2 separate regions of the Homo sapiens genome follow, and region 2 is linked to region 1. Evidence: promoter capture Hi-C in 16 types of primary human blood cells and fetal thymus (Javierre and others, 2016). All regions are on one chromosome and are shown on one strand. The core of a region is centred on a gene start or on the middle of the fragment in contact, and the rest is flanking DNA. Distances in the headings are between cores, read along the strand shown. Region 1 holds the start of TMEM252 (transmembrane protein 252). Region 2 overlaps PGM5 (phosphoglucomutase 5).

Region 1 (2,685 bases), core at 122-2,621:
CGCTAAGTACTCATGTAAGTGGAATTATACAATATTTGCCCTTTGTAACTGACTTGTTTCACTTAGCATAATGTTTTCAACTTCATCCAAGTGGTGGCATGTGCCAGGATTTCCTTCCTTTTTAAGGCTAATATTCCATTGCATGTATATACCACATTTTGTTTATCTACTCACCTGTTGATGGACATTTGGGCTATTATGAATAAATGTTGCTACAAGCATTGGTGTACAAACATCCATTTGAATCCCTGCTTTCAGTTCCTTTGTGTATAAACTCAGAATGTAGAATTGCCAGATCAAACAGTAATTCAATATTTAATGTATAGAGGAGTCTCCACACTGTTTTCCACAGTGGTTGCACCATTTTAACATTCCCACCAGCAATGCACAGCGTTCCAATTTATTGACATCCTCACCAACACTAGCTGTTTGGTTTTGTTTTTTGATGATAACTATCCTAATGTATGAGATGGCGAGAAAGAATGAATCTTGCCTCTAGAATATTATCACCTTCCCCTGAAGGAATGTTTTATGCAAGGTGAGATCACAACACCTAAAAGGACAGTAAACTGGGACTTTTCTGAGCTCACAGAGATTCCAGGACTCATTTTATGCCTGCTTCTTCATTTGTTGTGTGGCAGAATTTGGTCTGGGACTTGCTTTCCTTAGAACCTCATAGCCAGGTTATGGGAAGTAACTAACCATCACCTGCCACTAATTAATGACAGCTGCCATGATATAACAAAAGAGCCTGGGTTTCTAAATTGGCTTAGGTGGGTTTTCACTGGGGGTGGTGGTAGGGTTTCTCTGAGATGAGTTGCCCCTGCGTCATGGTTTTCCCCAAAGATGGCGCCACTCTTCCTAATAACAACCCCAGAGTAATTCCCTGACAATAAAGCTTTGGTTCTAGACAGACAGCCCATGGGACATGTAAGTCGCTCCATAGTAGGATCAGAAATTACTCAGATCTTACACAACTCAGCCCATCTCAGCCCTTCTTGGTCCCTCTGCCTGTCAGCACGTACCTGTCTACTGTGGCCACGGGCAGGGCCCCATGAGCAAGGTGTTGTCGGAGCATGTGCCTCAACACTCCTTTGCTTTCAGTCACCTGGCGATAGTTGCTCCAGAAAATTCCACTCAGAAGGATCACAAACCCCAGAGGCAGAAGCAAATAGGCCGCAATCAGGCTCCCCTGACAGTCGAATATGGAGCCCCAGGAAATGAAGAAGGCCCCCAGGCAGACCATCAGGAAACCCATCAGGAGGGCAAGAGCACAGAGAATGAGGCCAGTTCTGTTCTGCATCCTTGCACCTTAGGAACCCAGCACCCTGACCCTGCTGCTCCTCTGCTTCCCTGCTTGCTCCAAGAGAATGAGCTCATTAGCCAGCTTGCAGCTTTATATGCTCTGGGACCCACTGGCCTTTGGACAACTAAATGAAACAGGCACTTAGAAGCTATTCATTAACCATTGAAAGTAAGTGTAATATCCTTGGAGAATTAGCCAAAAAACATAGCATTGTATACTGCAGGCAGGAGTGGCTTCGTGTAGCTGTTTTGTTCTTCAGAGTTGGGTGGGACACTCAGCTGTTCCCAGTTATTTGAACGTACAGCCCTCCTTTGATTAAAAGGCGCTGGTCTCTTAATCCCCATGGAGGGCAATTCCCCACTAAAAGCTGGAGAAGTTAGCACTCTTTAAAGAACGATCTTCTTTGAGGTTTGGTAAGAAATCCCTTCCTGATTCCTTCTCCCTTTTTCTGTACTAAAAAGGCATTTCTTCAAGGCTGTTAACATGTTTGTCTTGCCTCCCTCAATGAATCCCCACTTATTGCCCCCACACTATGATACTGGCATAATTCCAAGACAGAAGTTCAGAGTGTGAACTTCGTGGTTCCTGCTCTGTTGACAAGATCGAAAGAGCCTGAGTGGGAGGGAAAGGAGAGTGCTGGAGAAAAGGACTATAATAGACAGAGCCTCGGGAATTTGGGGGGATTTTGGGCCTGTAATTCCTGCAATCTTTCCCCCTTTCATAAAGTACATATGAAATAGAATTCGTTTTAGAGGATGCTGCTAAAAATGTTCCCTGTCCTCTCCTCCACACCTCTGCTCTATGTAGCATTGCCTCAAAAAATCTTTCCAGAACCAGCCTTCTGTTTCCTGGCTGGAATTTGTTTTCTTTAGCTTGACTGTCTTTGATTGTGGATAGCTTATTTCAGACGTGCTTTATGCCCTGGCTCTGCCCTTTTTTATTTGATAATGTGGCATGTCTCTGCCAAAAGTCTCCTTCCCATAGGAACCCTGGGTTGCTTTTACTCAGGATAGCTTATCTTCAGTTCCTCTTTGCTGCTGTTCCACTCCACTACTCCATTACCATTATTTTCCATTTACTTTCCCAATGAGAGCAGCAGTTTTTTGTGGCGTGCCCTAATAATCCCTCATATAACCTTTAGTCTCACACTCACCATCTCCTTAGCTCTACCTTCATGTTAGGGCTGGGAGACACGGATATTAGAGAGGTACACACTATGGATCAAAAACTATATAAGGCACTTCTCCATTCCAACCCTTAGCCTTTACCTTTCTTAGCTTCAATTTCGACCTTGAACTACCTTGATCTTCTAGTCTTGATATTGTCTTTGTAATCTTAAAACAGCTCTTATTCCCTCCTTCCCCAAACTGTGAGATGGA
Region 2 (2,685 bases), core at 64-2,563, 120 kb before region 1:
ATTCTGCAAGGGCGAAAATTTAAAAGAACACACAAGAACCTGAATTTGAAAGAGTAAATGGTGGTGAGGCACCTTTGAAGGGAGAGTGCTCTGAGGAGCAGGACTGAAGAGCTTGGTGTTGAGAATGGCATGCAGAGCTGACATTAGGTTCAATCAGGTTGTTTCTCTTCCCCTGGAATGGCAGCCTTTGGGAAATAACCCCAAGAGCACAAAATCTCTCTCTCTCTCTCTCTCTCTCTGTCTCTCTCTCTCTCTCTCTCTCTCTCTGCCTCCCTCTTTCTCTCTTTCTTTTGGGGGCTGAGGCCCTTGAAGACCCTTTGCAATTCCATAAATAGTCAGAGACATCCCTCAAATACTACACCATGTTCCTCTGCATGGGAAAAGTGTGGTCACGCATACACGTAACTCCATTCCCTCCCCTCCTTTCCTCCTTGCAATGGAAGGAGCAGGAAGTGGACAAGAAAACAGAACAGTATTAGAGAAACAGAATGTACCTAAATGGGGAAGACTGGGCTGAATTTGAGGAGGCTGAGTTTTACTTCCAAACCCACCCAATTCACTACTGCTGTATCTCTTGACAAAATAAGTAGACATAGTCTGTGGCCAATTTTCTTCTAACTTCATCTCAGAACTCCTCTCTCCTCTCTATGCATATCTGCCCTCCGCAAGCCTCAGACCTCATGATGAACGAGGAAGGTAAAGCATCTGGAAAAGTTTCCTATGAAGAGCTGCTGAAAAAGCCTGAGATGTTGTTTAGTGTAGAAAAGACTCAACTTTGCATTTCCCACAAAGTGTTTCATGGAACACCCTTTGTCTTAGTCTGTTCCAGCTGCTGTCACAAAATAACACAGACAGTGTGGCTTATGAACAACAGAAATTTATTTCTCACAGTACTGAAAGCTGAGAAGTCCAAAATCAAGGAGCTGGTGTGTTGGGTGTCTGGTGAGGGCCTGGCTTCCTGGTTTATACATGGTTTCTTCTTGCTGTGTCCTCACATGGTGGAAGGGGCAAGGCAGCTCTCAGGGGCTTCTTTTATAAGGGCTCTAATCTCATTCACAAGGGATCTGCCCTTGGGATCTAATCACCCCCAAAAGGTCCCACCTCCTAAAATCATATTATTGATAACTAGATTTCAACATGTGAATTTTGGGTCAACCAAAGCTATAGCACTACTCACAAGAAATGTTAATGGGTGTTCTTAAACAAGGCAGAAGGGTTCCATGGACAAAATAAATTTGGAAAAGGATGAAATAAATATAAAGCAAGTTTCTTAACTTCTTCACTTTTCATAGCTTTTGACAGATTGTTGTGATTCTCCAGTAAGGACTACAGAATGTAGCATTTCCCAAACATATTTGACCAATGAACTACCATCCCAGGTGTACCTATTAATGTCTCTTAGGGGACTAGTGGGAGGTTGCACTGTTTGATTTTAAAGAACGCTTGCAAAACCAGACACCATGACTTCAAGTTGCCCTTATTAGTTAGACCTGTCTTCTGAGGTCCAAAATTGACCTCCTTCTTCCTTTCTCTGAAATTCATATAATTATATGATTAAACAAATTTCTACTAAGACAAATTTGGTATAATCCTCTAGCTCTTCATTTGTTATTCATTGTTTTAAAAGTTTCTTATTTGAAATAAACAGTTAGATAATTATAATGGGAGATCATCTTTTTTGAGGGCTTTTCTGTATGCTCTTTCTAGTATAAGTCACCTCTTTCTCTTTTACTGTTCCTTGGCAAGCAAAAACACAAGTTTAGGAACAAGCCAGAGTTATCAAAAGTTCTACAGGAGTGAGGAAAAAAAGAGCAAGAGGAACGCAGGAGAGGCAACTCACTTGATGACATGGCAGAAGCATCCAAGCTGCTGAATTGTTTTCAAAAGATGGCAGGCAGGGCCCACAGTGAAAGCATCCCATCTGGTTGTCCAATCCACCATGAAAGGGGTCGAGAGTGGTAAGGATTAGAGTAGAGGAGATTCCCAGGAGCTATTGCTGGTGATGGAGGGATGTGGAGACTTTCCATTGTTTATGTACATTAGAGAAGATTGACTTGAAATTTCATAAATATATATCTTATCTTATATTCCTTAATGTACATAATGGAGAAAAAAACCCAAGAGAGCACTCCAAGAGGAGTTGAGTTTGGATCAAATCCTATCCTAAGCATTATCCTATTTTGGAGTTGAGATACCTACATTTTAGAAATATTTTTAATCCAGAATAGGTCACATGCTAAATATTCTGGGTAAATGGTGTTTATTTGTTCATTGTTTTTTTTCTTGGCATGTGGAAGAGAAATCATCTTGAATCAATTGTGTTCATTGGCCAAACAGTATGATAATTTGTTAAATTTTACTGATTAATGATGCAGAGTCTTGACTTTCATTGTAAGTAAACTCAGGACACAAAAAGCACTAAGAGATGCCCAAAGTGGTTTTCTATAATTTAAATGGAAATAAATTTGTATCGAAAGTACACTAGATTTCACATTTCACATCCTTTTAGTTTTAGATTTAAAAAAAGAGCGATACTTTCTGACTTCTCAGCTAAGATTTTTATAGTGGTAGTGGTTGTTGATATTTGGTGTGTAAAACCTCTTTATGCTGCTTTAGCTATATATTTTTTAAGCTGACTTTACTATCAAAAGCACTTGAAATTTAAAAATTATGTCCATGATTAAA

Evidence for each region. Contacts are between HindIII fragments. The CHiCAGO score rates a contact against its expected background, and 5 or more counts as called.
Region 2: a contact is called between a fragment that was not itself captured here and the fragment with the promoter of TMEM252 in region 1, in 1 of 17 cell types (neutrophils). The highest score is 6.4, in neutrophils.

Annotation. Positions count from the first base shown.
Region 1 is chr9:68,539,512-68,542,196 of GRCh38, forward strand. TMEM252 (transmembrane protein 252) reads right to left here and starts at 1,372. Exons shown (of 2, transcript NM_153237.2): 1 at 1,026-1,372. The coding sequence starts at 1,303. It overlaps TMEM252-DT (TMEM252 divergent transcript), which reads left to right and starts at 1,514. Exons shown (of 5, transcript NR_187592.1): 1 at 1,514-1,719. The HindIII fragment of the contact is 3,743 bases long and covers 897-2,685 here.
Region 2 is chr9:68,423,416-68,426,100 of GRCh38, forward strand. The region is part of intron 6 of PGM5 (phosphoglucomutase 5); the gene reads left to right. Among named protein-coding and RNA genes, the nearest start is that of PGM5-AS1, 67 kb to the left of the region's middle. The HindIII fragment of the contact is 9,480 bases long and covers 1-2,685 here.